Linked DNA regions of Homo sapiens: regions 2, 3, 4, 5 and 6 are each linked to region 1. Evidence: promoter capture Hi-C in 16 types of primary human blood cells and fetal thymus (Javierre and others, 2016). All regions are on one chromosome and are shown on one strand. Each heading gives the region's core, a stretch centred on a gene start or on the middle of the fragment in contact. The rest is flanking DNA. Distances are from core to core; before and after follow the strand shown.

Evidence for each region. The method cuts DNA at HindIII sites, captures the fragments that hold promoters and counts their contacts. A CHiCAGO score of 5 or more calls a contact.
Region 2: a fragment that was not itself captured here is called in contact with the fragment with the promoter of TAF9 in region 1 in 3 of 17 cell types (total B cells, total CD4 T cells and non-activated CD4 T cells); the score reaches 7.5 in total B cells.
Region 3: a contact is called between a fragment that was not itself captured here and the fragment with the promoter of TAF9 in region 1, in 1 of 17 cell types (fetal thymus). The highest score is 7.9, in fetal thymus.
Region 4: a contact is called between a fragment that was not itself captured here and the fragment with the promoter of TAF9 in region 1, in 1 of 17 cell types (neutrophils). The highest score is 6.4, in neutrophils.
Region 5: the fragment with the promoter of TNPO1 here is called in contact with the fragment with the promoter of TAF9 in region 1 in 1 of 17 cell types (total B cells); the score reaches 5.6 in total B cells.
Region 6: the fragment with the promoter of SREK1 here is called in contact with the fragment with the promoter of TAF9 in region 1 in 2 of 17 cell types (fetal thymus and total B cells); the score reaches 6.9 in fetal thymus.

Annotation. Positions count from the first base shown.
Region 1 is chr5:69,367,213-69,370,769 of GRCh38, forward strand. It overlaps TAF9 (TATA-box binding protein associated factor 9), which reads right to left and starts at 2,308. Exons shown (of 3, transcript NM_003187.5): 1 at 2,251-2,308. AK6 (adenylate kinase 6) reads right to left here and starts at 2,308. Exons shown (of 5, transcript NM_016283.5): 1 at 2,251-2,308. The coding sequence starts at 2,278. RAD17 (RAD17 checkpoint clamp loader component) reads left to right here and starts at 2,606. Exons shown (of 19, transcript NM_133338.3): 1 at 2,606-2,721. RefSeq lists an enhancer at 2,860-3,409. The HindIII fragment of the contact is 4,867 bases long and covers 1-2,789 here.
Region 2 is chr5:73,565,368-73,568,924 of GRCh38, forward strand. UTP15 (UTP15 small subunit processome component) reads left to right here and starts at 376. Exons shown (of 13, transcript NM_032175.4): 1 at 376-545; 2 at 1,895-2,067; 3 at 2,868-2,960; 4 at 3,053-3,237. The coding sequence starts at 1,978. ANKRA2 (ankyrin repeat family A member 2) reads right to left here and starts at 272. Exons shown (of 9, transcript NM_023039.5): 1 at 1-272. RefSeq lists enhancers at 1-86, 1-515, 87-641. The HindIII fragment of the contact is 442 bases long and covers 1,416-1,857 here.
Region 3 is chr5:65,555,908-65,559,464 of GRCh38, forward strand. The region is part of intron 2 of CENPK (centromere protein K); the gene reads right to left. Among named protein-coding and RNA genes, the nearest start is that of CENPK, 5.5 kb to the right of the region's middle. RefSeq lists an enhancer at 3,547-3,557. The HindIII fragment of the contact is 8,637 bases long and covers 1-3,557 here.
Region 4 is chr5:65,715,929-65,719,485 of GRCh38, forward strand. The region is part of intron 2 of SGTB (small glutamine rich tetratricopeptide repeat co-chaperone beta); the gene reads right to left. Among named protein-coding and RNA genes, the nearest start is that of SGTB, 4.4 kb to the right of the region's middle. RefSeq lists a silencer at 3,511-3,557. The HindIII fragment of the contact is 6,188 bases long and covers 1-3,557 here.
Region 5 is chr5:72,814,773-72,818,329 of GRCh38, forward strand. TNPO1 (transportin 1) reads left to right here and starts at 1,889. Exons shown (of 25, transcript NM_002270.4): 1 at 1,889-1,980. The coding sequence starts at 1,966. It overlaps TNPO1-DT (TNPO1 divergent transcript), which reads right to left and starts at 1,776. Exons shown (of 9, transcript NR_186518.1): 1 at 1,381-1,776. RefSeq lists enhancers at 1,456-1,535, 2,616-2,665 and silencers at 1,796-1,895, 1,936-2,155. The HindIII fragment of the contact is 3,194 bases long and covers 1-2,869 here.
Region 6 is chr5:66,142,481-66,146,037 of GRCh38, forward strand. SREK1 (splicing regulatory glutamic acid and lysine rich protein 1) reads left to right here and starts at 1,820. Exons shown (of 12, transcript NM_001077199.3): 1 at 1,820-2,057. The coding sequence starts at 1,897. RefSeq lists a silencer at 1,601-1,670 and enhancers at 1,851-2,130, 2,391-2,450, 2,511-2,560. The HindIII fragment of the contact is 9,482 bases long and covers 1-2,687 here.

The DNA.
Region 1 (3,557 bases), core at 1,058-3,557:
ATAAAATTAGCCATCTCGTGCTGGGCGCAGTGGCTCATGCCTGTAATCACCGCACTTTGGGAGGCCGAGGCGGGCAGATCACAAGGTCAGGAGATTGAGACAATCCTGGCCAACATAGTGAAACTACATCTCTATTAAAATACAAAAATTAGCCGGGCGTGGTGGCGCGTGCCTGTAATCCCAGCTACTCAGGAGGCTGAGGCAGGAGAATCCCTTGAACCAGGTAGTTGTAGGATGCAGTGAGCCAAGATCGCGCCACAGCACTCCAGCCTGGCGACAGAGACTCCATCTCAAAAAAAAAAAAAAAAAAATTAGCCACCTCGAATCAATTACAATAATTTATTTACCTTTTTCTTTTTTTAAAGACAAGATATCTCTTTGTTACCTAGGCTGGAGTGCAGTGGAACTTGGCTCACTAGAGCCTTTACCTCCTGGGCTCAAGCAATCCTCCCATCTCAGCCTGTCCGGTAGCTAGGACCACAGGTATGCACCACCATGCCCTGGTTAATTTTTGTAGAGACGGGGTTTGGCTATGTTGCTTAGGCTAAGCTCAAACTCCTGAGCTCAAGCGATCTCCCCACCTCCACCTCCCAAAGTGCTGGGATTTACAGGCATGAGCCACCCACCTGGCCTATTTGCTTTAACTTATAAAGATTTAAAAACTGTTCATGGCCACGTGTGGTGGCTCGCGCGTGTAATCCCAGCAATTTGGGAGGAGAAGGCGGGAGGATCGCTTAAGCGCAGGAGTTCGAGACCAGCCTGGCCAACATAATGAGACTCTGTCTCAAACAAAAACAAAAACAAGAACAAAAACAAAACTGTTCATGTTAAAATTAAGCAGTCTGAAAATTACCTCTACTGACCCCTTGCGCCCTTCCCTAGAGATAACCACTGTAAACCAGTTTCCTTTCCCAAAGAAACCCTATTTATGTTTGCATGTAAATGTACATATATGTACATACTCTTTGTTATATAAATACAACACATATTCCCTTTTACATAAATGACAATACTATATACATTGTTCTTTACCTTCCCCTTCTGATACCTATTAAAATTACATTTCAAGATCATCAAATTCATAATTTTCAGCTATTCAGATTTAACATCCCTGAAATTAAACTTAAGCATAAAGATAACAGGGATAATCCAGTTCCCATACCCAGGAGAATAACGGTCACCTCAAGTCCACTATAATACACCAAGTCTGAACCCTGGACTCAACATGTTTTCAATAAAATGTTCACTTTAAAGTTTTGACAATGACTTAATAACCAGGGCACTATGTTTGATCCATGCAAAAAGATGTAAAATCTTCCGCTTAAGGAATCTAAAATTCTAAACGTTATTTGTGGGGTGGTTAATCTGCACCTCTCAGAAACAGACATGTCTTGTGCGCTGCCAACAATTTTACCTTTGGGTGAATGATGTAACTTTACTGTTCCCACAAAGAGTCTTAATTTTTCTGTACCTTGCAATAAAATCTACATGCATTAGATTTTTCCACGAATGGCCTACAATTTGATAAACACTTTCAGGACTAAACGGCTAGCAAAAATATTCGTTAAAGTCGTTATGCAGCATTTTAATTCCCTTCACTGATAACATGCACCCTGAGTATGGCTTCAAAGACCCACTCCTACGCGAGAAACGACCCGAAATGCTCTATATGCCTTCCTTTTAAGGGGCGGGGGGATCCTTTGATGTAACTCAACAAAAGCATACAGCAATTTCGTCACGTCACAAACATCTGAACTCGTTTACCGAAATCTAATCTGAGGCGTTTATCAGAAGCAAAGAAAAAATAAAATACGGCCCACGGAGGCCTAAGGAGTGAGGCATCCACCATTAATGACTCTACCGGGAAGCAGATATGGCCTTACGTTATTTCGCTAAAAATCCCAAGGCCAACCCTGCCAAAGAATCAACAACCCATTTTACAAACGAAATACCAGATTCAGAAAGACTAAGCAGGTTGCCAAGCTGGAGAGCTGGATCTGCCGACCTCTCTCCACCCCCCCCCGCCCCCCCCCGGAGCCTCAGGCCAACGGAATTAACGTTCCGCGTCCCCTCCCTCGCCTCCCGCAACGCCCGCGAGGGTCGGCTCCCGGGGCGCTGACAACCGCCTCGTGGCCCTCGGCCGGCCTCTGAAGAGGGCAGTGAGGGGCCCCCACCTGGGCGCCCGATGCCCAGAGCACTCTGCGCCCCCAGCCTGCCCCAGCCCAGTCCCTCCCGGCCGCGCGCCCTGACCGGTGAGCAGGATGTTCGGAAGCAACATGGTCCCCGCCGCGACGGCTTCGGGCGCCTCGCTCACGTGCCCTTTGCTCTACAGGGAGGAGCCGGAAGGGGCGGGCGGCAGCAAAAGCCCACGGCCCCAAAGGCCCCGAAGCCCACCGCGGCGCCCCTAGCCTGCCCCGGCGGCCCAGCCGCGGCCCACTGGTTACCTGGCTTTCGATGACACATTTCCGTCGCAAAGTTGGAGGGTGGGCATAACTCGGGTCGGTACTTCGGGTCAGGCAGTGCGCTGGATGCCTAAGTCACACACTCCTTCGGTGGTCCCCGCCCTTCGCTTGCGCCGACCAGTCTGGAAGGTCCCCGGGAGGCCGTACCTCCGAGAGGCTCGGCGTTGAGCCCGGGTAGGGCCAGGTGGCTGCCCTTTCACCTAGGGTAGTCCCTGGTCGCCTCCGCTCTTCGCCTAAAAGGGGATGCAGCTCCGGGAAAGTAAGGCCGCCGCGGTTGCGGCTATATTATGTATATGTCTTAGAGACGTGAGTCTATCTCTGCCTTCAAGCTTTCCTGGGCTCTCGTCGCTCCTCCTCCCGACCCGCCCATCCCATCTGGGGATGAGAAGATTGAGGGTGCAGAGCCCTGTCCTGCAGCGGGGATTTGCGAGCTCAACCCGGCACCCCACTGATTACAGGATTACGTTGGACGAATATTTGAGCTTAGTATTCCCTGTTCACTGTGTGGGGTGGTGGTGGGTCGGCTAGGAATAGTCTTGAAGGTCTACCTCTGACATCTCATTTCAGTAACCTCGCATCTTCAGGGACAGTTATCTGCTTTTTAAAGGAGGTAATTGTCAATCTTGTTTTCAAGAGTGAATAGAGACCTGACCGTGACAACAGTCTGCACCTTTTTTTGTTTGTTTGTTTGTTTTTGTTTTGTTTTGAGACGGAGTCTCACTCTTGTCGCCCAGGCTGGAGTGCAACCTCCGCCTCCTGGGTTCAAGTGATTCTCCTGCCTTAGCCTCCAGAGTAGCTGGGATTACAGGCGCCCACCACCACGCCCGGCTAATTTTTGCATTTTTAATAGAGACGGGGTTTCACCATGTTTTGGCCAGGCTGGTCTCAAACTCCTGACCTCAGATGATCCGCCCGCCTCGTCCTCCCACGGTGCTGGGATTACAGGCATGAGCCACCGCGTCCGGCCCCTGGTCTGCATCTTTTATTTCGAGCTACAAACTATATTTACTCAAATAGGTGTTTTTTTTCCACCTGTATACCTTTTGAAACGTCACAGTCTCTAATCGTGAACGATTTGGGGCGGAGGGCTGAACA
Region 2 (3,557 bases), core at 387-2,886, 4.2 Mb after region 1:
TTCCCATCTGAGGCCAGCTTCAGTACAGGCCTCCAAGCCCGGGCTTGTTTTGGCCGCGACGTCACTTCCGATTTCTTCTTTCGCCTTCTGGCTAAAAAACGTTCCGCAGCAATGCAGCTGAAACTTTCGGGTTTTCTTTTTTTTGTCCCTCTCTCCTTTTTTTTAATATTTTTGTTTTTGCCGCCTTTACGCTCCGAGGCCCATCCTGCCGGAGTACTACACAGACAGGGTCATTTCAGTTGACGGTTCTGGGTCACCAGAGCAGAGGAAGCCCCAATTTCGCCCTCCGGTCACACCTCCTACTCCAGATCGCCCCGCCCACCTGACCCGCCTCTGCGCCGCCGGGCTGCGTGAGTCTCATGAGCGTGCTCTGGTACGTCATCTTCGCGCGACGTTCGGTTCGCTGTGTGTGTCGCCGGCTCCTTGAGGGTCCATGTGATTTTTACGCCAGTGCTGCTGAACTGTGCAGGGTAGGGAGCTGGCACAGTCCGATTAATTGTCCTTGGGTCGAGGTGTCTCGTCGGACCCTTTGGGGCTCAGTGGAGGTAGGTGAAGGCGGCTCCCATTGAGGGAAGCCCACACTCACACCCGGCCTTCCTGTGTTAATCTGGCATGCTCTTCTGGGGCTTCCCAGGCTATATAGGAGAGTGGCCAAATTCTTTAACCGGCTCAAGTTCCCCTCAATTAAGCTTCGACCTAGGTTCTTCTCTGCGATTACACCCTTTCCTGTCCACCGTTGTTAGTTCCCGGAGTAATCAGCAACTCTCCAAGGCAATGGACACATTTCCATCTTTGCCTTTGCTTACGAGGCTCCCTCAGGTGAAGTGAACCTAATGGAGTTTTAAAATATTTGGGAGATAAAATCAGCAGATCTTGTTAACTATTTGGATGTTAGGAGTGAGGAAGAAAAGGACACGTCAAGGCTGAGTCTAGGTTAATATCTGGTGCCAGTCACCAGCCAAAATGGAGTATATTGGAGTAAGCAAAGGCACAGACCATGTCTTTATTTCATTCACCATTATAGCCCCAGTGCCTAGAGCAGTGTCCTGCACATTGGTAGGTACTTTAATGAACAGAAGAGTGTTCCCAAAGACCAGTGAAATACAATCATTGGTCATTGTATTTCATTAAAGCACCTTTTAAATATATGTTACACCTATTTATCGTGGTGTTACTAATGTAAAGTTTTCAGGCTTTTTGGAATAGATGATGAGCAGCACCTCTGGAATCATTTACCTGATAACATTGAATCTCTTTTGCAATTGAGTCGTTCTGGAAAAATGTTTTGGCTTGATTGCATGTTATTTAAAAGTTTTATCCTATTCTGCCACTTTAGTGTTGAATTTAATTTCAGGACTGCTTTATTACAGTTTTCTTTCCTACTGTTTAAACCTTTTAAAGTAAATTTAATTTTAAGCTTCTACATTAGAATATTAGCTTTGTGTTTCTTACTTCTTGGCATTTTTAGGCTTTCAGGAAATCAAATCCGTAACTATAATTGTTATAGATTAAATGTCATCTTAAACTTGGTTTCAGGAAACTTGTATTTGCAGTTTCACCTTAATATTTCCTGTTGCCAAAAAATGGACACTCAAAGCCAGCATGATCCTTTTTGGTTTGGCTACTGTAAGGCTGTGCTAGATTTATTCCTAAGTGTTGTAAAATGGTTGGCTAGGTGTGAGAACCTTTGTGTACAGCTGAATAGATGGTGCGATATGATAGCCTTCACTTTAATTATTCCTGCTTCCTATAGATTGCCTTTTCTGGGTTAGAATTAAATGGCTTATTGGTCTCTAATCTATATACTTCCACACAGACTTTTTAAAGAAAGCAGAGTGAAAATCAACTATGTGTACAAGCTTATAATATGTATATAAAATATTTTATTTTTCAGAATTAAGGCAGAGTCACTGTAATTATTTCTAATACCAATTCCAAAATAGTGACTCTTGGACAATAGTGCAATTATATGGAATTATGGCTGGTTATAAGCCTGTAGCTATTCAGACATATCCTATACTTGGTGAAAAAATCACCCAAGATACACTGTACTGGAACAACTATAAGGTGAGTGTGGGACGTAATGAGGGAGAAGGGATTTGTGTTTATGCCAATTTCTCTAGCATATGTTATACTCTGGATGCTCTAACAGAGAATTATTAACTGAAAACCATCTATCAGCAGCTTATAGTTTGGGCAGATAATTTGATATCTATTTTTTCTTGGAATTTTATGTAAAAGTCCATACTGCTTAATCAGATTAACCATACAAATGCCTAGCACAGAACAGATGATCAATCAATGCCAAATGAATTAAATTTTAAAATTTGAATCTCATATGTGTAAAGATGTTTATTGAAGTATTGCTTGTAATAGTAGAAATCTTGAAAAACCCATGTCTATTAGTAGTGGACTGGTATAGTAAATTACAGTGTGCCCTTATAATGGATGGTAAGTCTATTGCTCCTATGAAAGCTAATATGTGTTACTAAGTGAAAAGAAGCAAGATGTGGAACAGCCTACATGGTATGATTATCTTTTTGTTATTTTAAAAGTACAAGTACGTGGTTATTGTATGCTGGTGTAGACATGATAACTTTTTTTTTCTGGTAGAAATCACAGTAAACTCAATAGCTGAAGAGACAGAGTGGGGTGTGGCTTTCTAACCATATGTTTATTTCAGTGGCAACAAGAATAGTCTGGGTGATGAGATATGTACCTTTTTTGCTTTCTTTGTAATTTTATGTTAAATACAACTTAAGAAATGTTACTAAGAACAAAGAGAAACGGTCTGTAAGAAATTATGTAATGCATAAATAGGTCTTACCAGTGGTAACTCTGTTAACACACTATTATTTTTTATTAAGACCCCTGTTCAGATTAAGGAATTTGGTGCAGTTTCAAAAGTAGACTTTTCTCCTCAGCCTCCATATAATTATGCTGTCACAGCTTCCTCAAGAGTAAGTATAATATTAAATTTCTTTATTTTTCTTTTGTATAGTTTACTACTGATCTTGAGCCATCTGGTGAAATACTGTTTTTCATCTTGTAGATTCACATTTATGGCCGATACTCCCAAGAACCTATAAAAACCTTTTCTCGATTTAAAGACACAGCATACTGTGCTACTTTTCGACAAGATGGTAGATTGCTTGTGGCTGGCAGTGAAGATGGTGGAGTTCAACTTTTTGATATAAGTGGGAGGGCTCCCCTCAGGCAGTTTGAAGGCCATACAAAGTAAGAGACAGTTGGTTTCTGTGTGTTCTGGTTTTATTTTGTTGTAAGCTCTTTTTTTCTCTGGACTTTGGTTAAAAAGATAGAGATCAGTTTTATGGAGATTATTTGCCTATAGGTACTATATTTCCTGATTGTTCTAAGAGTGCTTAACTTGGGTTCCGTGGTCCAGTTTCATGGGGCTTATGAATTCCCTAGAATTGTATGTGATATTTTAGGAAATACACGTTTATCTAGGGAGCTACTCTGTAGCTTTTGGTTAACTTTAGTGGGGTCTGTGGCCCAGCTGAGATTATGAATTACTGACCTGAAGACAACCTTAC
Region 3 (3,557 bases), core at 608-3,107, 3.8 Mb before region 1:
TGCAGTTGAAAGCAAAGTTTTGAGCTAGCAATATGAATTTGACAGCCATCATCACACAGATAAGACTTACACACTACATAATGACATTTTGGTCAATCACAGACTGCACATATAACAGTGGTTCCAATGGAGCTGAAAAATTCCTATTGCCTACTGATGTCTTGATGATCCTGACCTTGCCTTAGGCCTAGGCTAATGTGTTTGTGTCTTCGTTCTTAACAAAGAAATTAAAAAAGTAAAAAATAAAAATAAATAAATTAGCTAGAAAAAAAGACATAAAATATGCCAGGTGCAGTGACTCACACCTGTAATCACAACACTTTGGGAGGCCAAGGTCGTAGGATCACTTGAGTTCAGGAGTTCCAGAACAGCCTGGCAACAAAGTAAGACCCCTATCTCTATAAAAAAATTTTAAAAATTAGCTGGGTGAGGTGGCCCAGTCCTGTAGCCCAAGCTGCTCAGGAGGCAGGGGCAGGAAGATCGCTTGAGTCCAGGAGTTCAAGGTTATAGTAAGCTATGATCACACCACTGCATTTCAGCCTGGGTGACAGAGACAAACTCTGTCTCTAAATTAGAAAATAAAAAAAGAAAGAAAATATTGTTGCACAGTTATACAACATGTTTATGTTTTAAGCTGTTTTTATGAAAGAGTTGATATGTTAAAAAATTAAAAAGATAAAGCAAAAAACTTACAGCAAGCTAAGGTTAATTTATTATTGAATAATTAAAAAAATAAATTTAGTATAGCCTAAGTGTACAGTATTTACAAAGTCTACAGTAGGGTACAGTAATGTCCTAGGCCTTCATATCTTCTCACAACTCACTGACTCATCTAGAGCAACTTCTAGTCCTATAAGCTACATTCATGGTAAAAGCCCTAGACAGGTGTTCCACTTTTTGTCTTTCATACCATTTTTTTTACTGTACCGTTTCTATGTTTAGAAATGTTTAAATACAAAAATACCATTCTGTTACAATTACCTACGGTATTCAGCCTAGGTATGTAGTAGGTTATACCATCTAGGTTTGTGCTCACATGATGAAATCATCTAACAATGCATTTCTCAACACATATCCCCGTTGTTAAGTGACACATGACTGTACTTACAGTTGTGAGGATAGGTGAAATAAGAAAAGGAAGAGTGTGCAGCTAGAAATGAGAAGATCTTCAGGCCAGGAGCTATTGAGGTAAGAACCAACTGAATAGTCTGAGAAGGAGCACTCAGTAAGTTAAGAGGAAAATCAAGAGCATGATACCCTGAAATCCAAGAATGTATTCAAGGAAGGAATGATAACTGTCAAACACTGGAGACAGGTCAAGTAAATTACAGAGAATTGACAATTTATTTAGTAATATAGAGGAGCAAACTGTTTTTTCTAAAAATACTCACAGCAATATTTCATCATTCCCCATCAAGAGACAGAGTCTTTTTCCTCTCCCCCTGAAACTGAGTGTGACTTTGTGGCTGTCTTTATAAAGAGAATACAATGAAAATGACACCACATGACTTTCAAGACTAAGTCATAAAAGGCAATATAGCTAACTTCTGGCTTTCTGTGTCTTGGAACACTCACCCTTGCAACCCAGGCACCATGTTATGCGAAAGCCCAAAGTAGCACAAAAGGAAGAGATCAACATAAAGTCCATGAGGAAAGGAACTGAGGTTCCCAGACAAACGCTGGTATCAACTCCCAGACATACACACGATCATTTCTGACAATTAAGCCCCTAGGCTTTGATCTTCTAGCCAAGGCTCCAGATACTGTGGAACAGAGAAGCTGCTCCTGCTGTGTCTTGTCTGAATTTCTAATGCACAAAACTCATGAGCGTAATAAATAGTTGTTTTACACCTCTACATTCTGGGGTAATTTATCACAACAATTTTCTTGGAGTAAACATACAAAAATGAAGGCCACAGATAACCTTCATAGGAGTAGTTTTAGAAGAATGGCAAGAATAAAAATCTGATTGGAGTGGATTCAAGAAAGAATGGAAGGCAAGGAATTAAAAATATTAAGTATATGAAACGTTTTCAAGAACGTTTTCTCTAGCCAGGCATGGCAGCACATGCCTGTATTCCAAGGTATTCAGGAGCTGAGGTGAGAGGATCACTTGAGCCCGGTGAACCCAGGAGACTGAGGCTGCAGTGAGCCACAATCACACAACTGCACTCCACCCTGGGTGACAAAGCAAGACCGTTAAGACCATACCAAAAACAAACAAACAAAACAAACAAAAAGAAAACACACACACACACATTTTTTTTTCTTTAAAGCACAAGAGAGAAATACAGTTAGTAGCTGGAGGGAGATATAGGGTTAAAAGAGACTTTTTCTTTTTTAAAGATGGGAGAAAATATAGCATCTTTATACGGTACAGTAAAAGAAGGAAATGTTGCTAATACAAGAGAGAAAGGGGAGAAGAAAGAATGGGATCTAGTACATAAGTAGAGGTGTTGGCTTAAGATAAATGGACATGCAGTTCATCCATTTTAATGGGAGGGTCATCAGAATATCAAGAGTGTAGATGCAGGTAGGTAAGTAGACGTGTTGCTAGGAACTTGTAGAAATTCTATGTGGATTGTTTCTCTTTTCTCCGTAAAATGGTAACTACGGTTATCAGCTATGAAAGGATGGGAAGAAAGTACTGCGAGTTTAAGAGCACAGGAAAAGAGATGTATAAAACAGATATATAAAAAAATGGGAGAGGATAAAGTTACAGGATTATTCAGTAGTAGCATTACAGGCTCACCTGAGATTAGTATCATGAGTTTAAAGTAAAACCAGAGCATGGTTGTATGTTTTCTTCTATGGTGTAGCACCACAGGTACAGACAGGGACAAAGTGAAAGAATGGCCATAGGAATAAGTAGCTAAGACAAGAGAGAACATAATCACTAGGGGAAAGAAGGTCAAGAAAAAGAGAGGCCAAGTTATTGGATCATCTATAAGGATATTAAAATCACTAAGAATTATGATAGTAGTACTGCAAAGGGCAATGAGCCAGGAGCTAAAAATCTTCAAGGAATGAGGGTGAGTAAAACAATCTTGCTAGATGATTCCTGCAAAGAATGGAAGAGGATTAGAGTCTGGTGGCATAAGATTCAAAACTGGGCAATTTTAAGGAGGTAGACAGTGCAATAAAGAATGATGAGGATGTCTACCCCACATCAAACGCAAATCAGAATACCCCTCCTCAATATCTTTATTCATATGGAACTTCTGCATTTTATACTGCTTAATCAATAACTTATTAACAGAGAAGTTCTAAGGCAGACCTAAATAAATGGAAAGATACTTCATATTCATGGACTGAAAGACCCACATTGTAAAGACGTTAATTCTCCCCCAAGTTGAGCTACTGAATCTTAACCAAAATCCTGAAAGTTTTTGTTTCTCTTTATGGGACTTGACAAGCAAATTGTAAAATTTACATGGAAGGGCCGGGCGCGGTGGCTCACGCCTGTAATCCCAGCACTTTGGGAGGCCGAGGCGGGCGGATCACGAGGTCAGGAGATCGAGACCATCCCGGCTAAAAGGGTGAAACCCCGTCTCTAC
Region 4 (3,557 bases), core at 271-2,770, 3.7 Mb before region 1:
CTGGCTAATTTTTGTATTTTTAGTAGAGAGGGAGTTTCACCATGTTGGCCAGGCTGGTCTCAAATTCCCGACCTCAAGTGATCCGCCCGCCTCGGCCTCCCGAAGTACTGGGATTACAGGTGTGAGCCACCGCACCCGGCCCACAGCTGCAGGTTTAACAGAGAGTTCAGGGTAGGCCTTACTGAGAAAAGAGATTTGACAAAGACTTAAAGGAGACGGGGGTGTTAGCATTATCTGTGAAGACCATTCCAGGCAGAGGAACCAGCCAGAGCAAAAGCCCTTAGGCAAGAGGATATGGTACATTTATAAAGAGAAAGCTAATAATGGCTGAAGCCAAATGAGAAAGGGGAGGAGTAGGTGAACAATATGTCACAGAAGTCAAATTATATAGATCCTTTAAACAATGTTTTGAGTAGATAAATGATAGAAACTCACATACTCTGTTTGTAAAGATCACTGGTGCCTGTGTTTGGAACAGCCAATGGAGGGGCAAGAATAGAAGCAGAGAGACCAGTTAGAGGCTATCACACTAAAACAGTCAAGAAATAGTTCAGTCCAGAGGTGGTATAAGAGATGTCAAATCTAGACATATTTTGAAAGTGTAGCCAACAGGATTTATTGAATGATTAGTTACAGGGTATTTGAGAAAGAGAAGAGTCCAGAATGATACCCAAGTTTCTGGCCTGAGCAACAGAAAAGATGACGCTGACATAAACAGAGATTGGGAAATTGCATACAGAACAGATTTTGGGTGGGGGAATCAGAAGTTCGGTTTTGGCCATGTTAAATTTGGGATGCCTATTAGACATGCAAGTGGAGATATCTAGTAGGTACTTGGATATATAAGACCTTCAGAAGAAAGGTCTGGGCTGAGGGCATAAATTTGGGAAATAGCATATAAATAAGGGGTATTTAAGGCTAAGAAGCCGAATGATATCACCAAAGAAATGGGTATAGATAATGAAAAGAAGAGGATCAAGCAGTGGACCCTGGGTACACCAGGTCAGGGAAAAGAAGAGGAACCAGAAAAGGGGACAGAAAAGAAGCAAACAATGAGATAAGAAAGCCAAGAAAGTATGAGGTATCCTGGAAACTAAATAAAATATACTGGGGGTGGTGGGGGTCATTTCATGAGGAAATGACCATCAACATTATCAATGACAGCTAATAACTCAGATGAAAGCTGAGAACTGACCATTAAATTAAACAACACAGAAATCACTAATGTCCTTGATGAGAGTGGTATAGATTGAGAGATTGAGGCAAAGGCTTAATCAGAATGGGTTTAAGAAGAATAGAAGGAGAGGAGTTGGAGAAAGCAAGTATAGACCATTCTTTCAAATGGTTTTGCTGCAAAGGGAGACATACAATTAAGCAGTAATTATTTGCTGTTTGTTTTTGCTTTTTTGAAGAAGGGAGAATAATGGTAAGTTTATATGATGATGGAAATGATCCAGTAGGGTATGAAAATTTTATGATGTAAGATTAAAAAAATAAAATAACTAAAGTGATATCCTGGAGTAGGTGAGACAGGATGGGATCTAGTATACCAGTAGAGGGGTTCCATTTAGAAAGGAACATGAATAGTCCATCTATGGTAATAGCTAGTCAAACAGGCAGGCAGGCCGAGTATGTGGGTGCCATCATATCCAGCTATTTTCTTATTATTTCAGCTTTCTTGGTGGAGTAGAAAGCAAGGTAACCAACTAAAAGTGAGGACAGTGAAGGAGGTTTGAGGGTTTGAGAAGATATGAGAAAGTGTTAAAATGGTCATCTAGGAAAATAAATGTATGAATGAACTTAGAACAGATACTGTGATTGCCTGACAGCATTAAAGGTCTACTTGAAGTTCACAGTCATGAATTTAAAGTGGGACTAGTCAGCAAAGTTGTGTGTTTTGCTCCATTTATTTACGGCTACATGAGTGGGTGTGAGTAGTTGGGCACAAAGTAGGTGGAGAGTTGGATTTAAACAAAGTTGGGCTTTGCAAGAAAGGGAAGGAGATACAAGGGAATAATTATAATTATCAACCATGGAATTTAAGATGAGTAAGAAGAGGTGTGGGGAAAGGTGAGGCATGAACAGATTGGAGGTACTGGTTGGGTCAAAGAATAGCTGGAGTAGGGATTCTAGAGGGAGTAATCTTGGAAAGACAGGCAATAGTGGTCAGGAAGTGAAATGTTTGGGATAGAGATTAGGGAAGGAATGCAATTCTGGTAATGATTAAGTCTAGGGAAGGCTTTCTCAATCTCCGCATACTGACATTTTGGATCAGGTAATTTCTTCTTGTCAGGGGCTGTCCTGTGCATTAGCAGCATCCATGGCCTCTACCTACTCACTAGATGCCAATAATACCAGCCACCCGCCTCACCCAGTTGTGACAATCAGAATGTATCCAGATATTGCAAAATCACCCCCAAGTTGAGAACCACTGATCTAGAATATGATCAAGTGTTTGAGATCACTGGATGAGGTCAATAACTGAGAGCCAGGGAACTAAAATAATCATCAATCAGTATATTGCAATTGCCAAGAACTAAATAGGAGTAGTGCTAGAGAGAGTGACAGTGAGCAGGAACCACAATTAGTCAAGGAATGAAGCAAATGTCAGTAGATGACAATAATTAAGAGGAGTGGGTGACATAATCTGATGGCAAGACAAAGCTGATGATATACCAGCTTCACAGTAGTGGTAAAGCTGGTATTAGAACTGAGGCTTCTTTCCTAGGGCTTTTAAAAATGTCTAGAAGGTGGGCAGACACCTCCACATGATTTCATGTTCAATTAAATTAGACTCACAGAGTCAAAAATAGGGGTCAGTCAAAAACAATTGGCACCCTTTCTGACTGCCATATATAACAAACAGCTGAAGGCACATATTTTTGGCTGAATACCATCCTAAAAATAGGACATAACATCTTGGTTTGAAAAAAAAACCCTCAATTTTCTTTCTGGCCCTTAAAACTTTTATGCTGCTTTTGATTAGAAAAGAAACATCTTTTCTTAAATGACTGCATTTATCTGTTTGCTACAGAGCAATCATAACTAACATTCTCCTTAGATAACCAATCAACTTTATTTTCACATAGTCTAATCATCAAGGAGAACAAAAAGACCTTAATATTAAATGGACTGATTGCAATGTTCTCCAACTGTGCATCACCTGCTCCTCTCACTGCCACCTGGAAAGACATCAACTAACCAGACTGCAAGGAGGTTTAGAGCAAATGCCCAATTTTCATCTCCACCTCCTAAAAGCATATTCACAGGGAAATGCTTGTTGAAATTATAGAAGCAGTTTCAAGATGGGATTTATAACTATACTGTCATTTATTAAGTTCTTCCAAATGCACTCTCACTGCAATAATTAAGACTTTGGGGCTGGGAGGGGTGGCTCATGCCTGTAATCTCAGTACTTTGGGAGGCCAAGGCGAGTGGATCACTTGAGCCCAGGAGTTTGAGAACAGCCTGGGCAACATGGCGAAACTCTGTCTCTACAAAAAAAAATACAAAACTTAGCCGGGTGTGGTAGTGTACTCCTGTAGTCCCAGCTACTC
Region 5 (3,557 bases), core at 639-3,138, 3.4 Mb after region 1:
CTGTTTAAAACATGTTTTTTTAATTTGACCTAGAAGAGACAAAAAGGCTACATGTGTAAGAATCTCTATTCAACAGAACTATTTTATATTAGTATTTTCATTCACTTTAATTTTTACAAAAGAATACATATTTAATTTGCTTAATCTCAATTTTACAACATCTGATAATCAACATTTTTTTCTTTCAAAATGTTTTGGCCAATAAATCCTCTTATGCTAAATAATATGTTACTTTTTCTTCAATTCATTTCAGCTATTTCCAAACTATTAATCAAGTGAACTCCTACTAATTGCTTAGTCAGTAGTATTTACATCTGTCATTATTTGCTAATCTTTTGGATTTTAGAAATATTTGTGTTTTTTCCTTTAGCAAAGTAGAATGCAAATACTACACATCTTCTGATTTGTATAGATCCTAGTCCACGATGTAACTTTTCAAATGCAGAAATAAGCCATTTGTTATTTGGATAAATATACTTTTTCTGGGTATATTTTCCTGCAGATAAACTACCATTCAGAAAAGTTTATATTACATTTTTTTCTTGGTAATCTACTCCTATTTGGGGGGGGGGGCTCTTTTTGATATACACTACTGTATCCAATTACTATCAAATTAATATTATAACATGTTGAAATCATGAATATTTTAGTTATCTATATTTTCCCTTGCTAAGTTCAATTTCCCAATGATTAAAAAATGGTACTTTTAGTCTCAAATTTTAAGTTAAATAAACTAGTTGTTCCTGCAAAATGACTGTAATTCAAATGAAAATTGTTAACACGTTTAGAAGAACAAATAAATTACCTTAGTAAAAATTTAGACATTTTCTAGTATTATGTACTGTAATTTTACCTAAACTATGACAGGAAGGCAACAACTGTCACACATTTTCAAAATATATACAGCACTTCCAGTAAGATAGTCGGAACTGCTGGTATTTCTACTCACACTGATCATGTGAGGAATATTATCACGGGCATCATCACCTTAGAAAATAAAAATCAGCTAGCTATGCAAATTTTAAGTATTTTTATACAGTAAATTTTACATATAAGAATAATCTGAGGGAAGGAAACTGATATTTATCTCATTACCCTTGTTGCAGTTGGGTATAAAAACGTCCACCACTCCCATTTTGAATCATTTGCCGTACAGAAAATACAGGACATTTTAATTTCTCATGATGGCAGGTTAGGGAGAGAAAGGCTTGTTATTTCTAAGAGCAAGAAACTACAGTTTTATAGGATTGAACACCTGGAGGCGTAAACATTTTATAAATCACTGAATTCTAATTACATAGTAGTTTATACGCCAGATACAACATACGTCAAAAGCCTATCTTGTTCTAAGCGGGCAGCCATCCACCGGCGTCTACCTACCGAAGCCATTTCTGCTTTTTACCAGCGACGCTGGAACAGTGTTATTGTGGGATATGTTCAGTGTTGAACAGGCTCCCAGGGCACGGCTGTTACTTTGGAGGTTATGCTGGGGTACAGAAGTTAGGCTGGGGCAGGGCCATCCACCTAGGAGGGCCCAGCACAGTCTGGGCAACCACACCGGCGGGCCGTTTTGCTCACAGCCCCACCGCGCCGGGCAGCGTCTGCAGCTGCTGCGTGCGAGACCCAGAGGCTCCGGTCAGCGCGCCGGCCGCAGGGAGTGCGAGCACTTGTGAGCCCCGCGCCGGGCCGGTGAAGTCTGGTGCTGCCGAGCCCGCTTAGAAAGCACGGCCGCGCGCTGTCGGACGCAGGCCCACAGGCCCAGCCGACCCAGGCAGCAATTTTCCTAGCCCCGCCGCCGTTGCCAAGGCGACCGCCGCCGAATGTTCCCGCCGCGGGCTCCGCCCCCCGGCCAATCGGACCGGCGCTCGGTGAAGCCCAGATTCTCTTTGTTCCGCAGCCATTTCAGGCCCCGGACAGGAGGCAGTGCCGCTTCGGCCGAAGGCCCGAGCGCCCGAGGCGTCTGGGATGGTGTGGGACCGGGTAGGTGGCGTGAGGGTGCGCGGCCCCGAACTGCAGGGGCGGGAACGGAGGCTGGGAGCGCCGAGCTGCCTGACGCGCCTACGGGAGAGACGCCGGGCTCGCCCGCTCTCTCGGCGCCTGCCCGGCCGTTTGAAGCCGAGAGGCAGCGGCGGCGCGGTTCTAACCCCAACAGCTGCCCGCCCAGGCGCCCTGCGGGACCCGGGTAGGGAGCAGGCGACGGCGGCTCCTCAAGCGTCCGAGGATCCCGTTAGGGGCGGCAGGAGCCCGTTACAAGGGGCGGGAAGGGAAGGGTCTTACATTCAGGGGAGCGTTTGCCTCGCCTGTTAAGCTGTGGCGTTTGAGGGCCCTTGAGTGCTGCAGTCGGCTGCCCCGGGACGGCTGCCTTTCACTGGTTCTGGGCGCTGGCCGGCGCTGCCCGAGATGGGCCAGTCTTTGTCCCGCCCTGGGCCCCTCTGCCCGGGTCTCCTGCGTCCGCACACAGCGCCCATCGTCCTTACATGCAGCTTGCCGTTCTCTTCCTCCCGGCGGTTCTTTCTCCTTGGGGCCTCTTGGCCTCACGACATGTTTACATAATGTTTGTGACTGTACGAGTTTTGCGTGGGCTTGTGGGTTTTGCCCTTCTACCTCCACTCCCATGCGTACAAGCAACAGGGAACAGCTGCTGAGGAGCAGATTGGCCACCACAATCAAGCTATTTTCGGAATGACTTTCTTTAAAAATGATCGCGTGTTGCTTACTGATTTTAAAAATCAACTGGATTTTGCAAGGATTGCTTAGAGTTTAAGTCTGTTATCTTAATCGCTAATCAGGATGGTCTATCAGTAGATGTAAATGTAGAAATTTGAAATTGGAGGCTATCTACAAATTGATTTTGACAGCTGTATTAAGAAGCTTAATAACTGTCCTTTGAAACAGTAATGACTTAAATGATGAATGTGTAAGTGGTACTTTTTTTACCCTAAAGAAAAGATACTTTTAAAATTGCAAGATGTATGGTGTAATAGGTGTTTGGAAATGAAGGTTGTAAAATGGCTGTCCTGACGTACTACTCACTTTTAGAATAACAAAAGTTCCTGCAGCTTTTTAAGTTTCCCTGTTATATCAAAGCTTTCATGTTAGAGTGGTGAAGAAGCTATGTTTAGTGGAAAAGGGGAAAGTTCCGTTTTTTGGGAAAGGATCTGTTTTCCACTTTCACCTTACCTGGCACCGTAGTTGTTCCTAGAGAAGGCTGTGCCAGGATGAAAATTAGCAACCACAAAAGGGAAACAATAGTTTGTAGGTGCAGATATCTTTTTTAGTCTCTAGCTATGCAGTGCATAAATTTATACTAGCTTGGCAGTACGATTTTTACTTCATGCAATTTAACGTGAGCCTAATGAAGTACTAGTGTTCTGTTTTCTTTTTCCTAAAAGGGGCCGCCACCCTTGATGTGGCTGCATCTTTCTCCTAGTCAGGAATTATTAAATTCCTCCCACTGAAATATCTATAAAAATCTTGTTTGCACTTCTACCTCAACTCTCAGTGGCTTTATTACCATTATATAATGTGAGCAGAATAAGATTTTTGTAAAAATACAT
Region 6 (3,557 bases), core at 570-3,069, 3.2 Mb before region 1:
AGCTGAATTCTCCTATCTATGTATTCTTTATTTTTTTCCAACTTTTATTGTAGGTCCAGGGGTACATGTGAAGGTTTGTTACATAGATAAATTCATGTCATGGGGGTTTGTTGTACAGATTATTTCATCATCCAGGTATTAAGCCCAGTGCTCAATAATTTTTTCTGCTCCTCTCCCTCCTTCCACCCTCCACCCTCAAGTAGACCACAGTGACTGACGTTTCCTTCTTTGTGATCATGAGTTTTCTGTGTATTCGATCTGTTGTGATATGTTTTGGTTGAAATATATGAGGGAAATCTGATCTCATAAAGATAAGGTGTTGGAAAAGGGAAAACTACTTTATAGCCTTTCCAGATAGTTCTAGATATTATTCTTTGATACGGTACCAAACTTACATGTGGTAGTTTCTTAGCCTTCATTGCAGTGTGGACTGAATCTGAAACCACATCAATTAAGCACTGAAATCCATCAATCTATCTTGCACATACCAGAGGCTTTTTGCCTTTGTAATGGCACCCACTGGCCATTTGAAAAATAGGTGTCCACTAAGTTGTAAAGATCACAAAAATGTTGACATATTTCATTATATAGTCAAAAATAAATTGTTAATATAATGCTTCTTTTACTAGAAAAGTCTTTAAGTACTGGCAAGCTGTCAAGCTCAAGCTGGTGGATACAAGTGTAATAAAATTTGTATTTTTAGGTGAAAATTCAAAGAATTACACTAGTGCTTTTTCCGGAGACAACCATTTCACTTGGGCATGTAGCGGCAGTAGTTTCCATTTTTTCACACATATTCTTTAAAAGACGTGTAAGCAAGGATGGATTTGAAAAAAAAATACAATTTTTAGTTATTTGTGAAGGACATTTTTAAAGTGAAACTAGCATACTTTAAAACCTTAAATGTTGTATGATGTGAAGAATACAAAATGCAACTACCAGTACAAGACTGGCGCCACTGCCTTGATTGCTGCTAAGGTGTCAGCAGTTTAATCTTTTACGTTACCAGTGCAAATGGCAACAAAGTGAAAAAGGTCAAGAAACTCTTAATATTATTACGAAAATCGTTTTGACCTTGCCAACTTACTGAAAAGGTCTCGGTACCCTTAGGGATCTGCGGAGGGCATTTTGGGAGCAGCTGCCATGGACTCACTACTGTTGTCTCTCATTAGGTTGCAAGTTCTATGTGAACTGTCTTTAACTGTCTGTTACGTGCCCTTGCCTAATAGTGCCTGGGACATAGCACTCAATAAACATCAACACCTGTGGAACGAGGGAATTAAAAACAGGTTATAAACAACCCCTGCACAGCCTTCATCTTACTGCCTCTTTCCTTAATTCAACCTGAACCTACGCATTTTGTAAAATTTTGTTTTTTTCACAATTAGGACGCCTGCCAACTTTTAAAAATAGTTGGAGTTGGGGTGCTGCCTGTATGTGATAAGGCTGCCCTATAGTTTGGTCAAGTGTTCTTCCGTGTTGTCCAAGAGTCATTCCTTCTTTACAGTCCCGCACCAGTAGGCCAGGCCGCTTGGTTTCCCAATCCGAGACCGGAAGGAACCGGGTAGACATGAGCACAAGACTCTCATCGACTTTTGGGGAAAACAAAAACACCGATAAAAATCCAGGCGGTGAAACGAGCAGCAACAGCCCCAGGGACCCGGGAGCTGGAGGCCGCAGCCGCGCGAGAACCGCCGGGTTGCCGGGGCGACGCTTCCGGCTGGCGCGCGCAGCCCCGGGAGCAGGGGAGTTGTGAAATGGGCGGCTAGATCTGCCCGGCGCTGTGAATTCGCCAGCGGGAGCGCGCTCGCGGCCGCGCGTTCTCCGCTTTCCCGGCTCCGTCGCTGACGCGTCGTAGACGTTGGGGAGCGGGAAGGCAACGGCAGCGGGATCGGGATGAACAGCGGCGGCGGCTTCGGTTTGGGCTTAGGCTTCGGCCTCACCCCCACGTCGGTGATTCAGGTGACGAATCTGTCGTCGGCGGTGACCAGCGAGCAGATGCGGACGCTTTTTTCCTTCCTAGGAGAAATCGAGGAGCTGCGGCTCTACCCCCCGGAGTAAGTGCTGGAGCTCGGCTGGGGGAGGGGCGCGGGCGCCATAGAGACCTCGGGAGCCGAGGCGTGGAGGAGAGCGCGGACGCGGGCGCGCGGTGCATGTCACGTGATCGCGCCGGCTTACCTTGGTGCCCATATTTGATTAGGGCACCCGGGTTCCGCCGTCCTGCTCTCCTTAGTCGGATTTGGGGGGTTAACTACTGCACGGAGCCCTTACCAAGGATTTAGAATGGTTGCCCTTTCTGTGCCTCCGGGACTTGTGTTCGCTGCTGGGTCTTCGAATTCCGTGCCCCCACCCTCTTATTTCCCCCCGAACTTAAGATGGCCGCAGGTGGGCCCGGAACAGCCCTCATGGCAAACGTCTCAGAGCGTTTTTCCACTCTGAAAATCGCGGAGACCGCGCCTGAGCCACAGTCCAGTTTTTAAGGCCTTGGTGTCAGGCCGTTTTGCTGACGAGAAAGCCTGCTGCTGGTGACAAGATGGAACTGGGGCTGTGTTTGTTTCCCAGGACGGTCGCACAAACTTAGCATTTTGGTTTATCTAACCGAGCGCATCCATGTTCCCAAAGATCATGTCTGTTAGCCCTTTTGACAGCAGATTAAATTTTCCTCCTGAAAGGTCACACTGTCCCAAAGCTTTCAGAAAAAGTGTAAGTCGGTGCAGGGTTATCCCTCCCGTATACATTTAAAGTCCAGATCTTGGCTGGCATTCACAGCTCGCGGCCACTTCCCAGATAGTGTATTTTGGAATGGTAAAATTTCCCTCGTACGATATTATTTAGAAAACTCGCAAGGGGTTTGTAGGTTGTTCACATTCTTGCACACAAACTTTTTTTCTTTTTTAATGGTAGATCTTACAGTATTAAGATCCTCCGTTTTTTGTTCATTATATCAAAATCCTTTGAGGGAAGGGGTAATTGTTACCCAAGATTTATTTCTTTAAAAAAATTTTGATTTATTTCCTAGTGATGCATTTAGACCTATTTTTCTTTAGTTTTCTATCTCAGGTTATAACAGTGCTGTTGCATAACTATATAAAAGTTGTGTGGATATTTAAAATTTACTTTTTAAGTTTTTCTTCTCTGCTTTTTGTTTTGGAATATTTCATGCATACAGAAAAGTTGAAAGAGTAATACATTGAACATCCATGTTCCTTTTACGAGCATTTTGTCTGTTTTTGGCTACAGTTGATTATTAAAATTTCCCCAGTTATTTTAATAATGCTTTTTTGTCTGCTTTTGATCTAGTATGTAATTAGATAACACTGTCTCCCTTGAATATGCCAAGTAATCCATGTATTAATAGTTATCTCCTTTAATCTAGGACAGTCCCGTCCCCTTTTAAAGATTCTAAAGTCGTGACATTGATATTTTGTTTTGTAGTTCATTTTGTCTTGTAATATGACTCATAATCTGAGTTTATATAGATGAGATATATAGATGAGGTATATAGAGATATGTGTATATATATATCTTTATATTCGTGACGAGATTCAGGTAATACA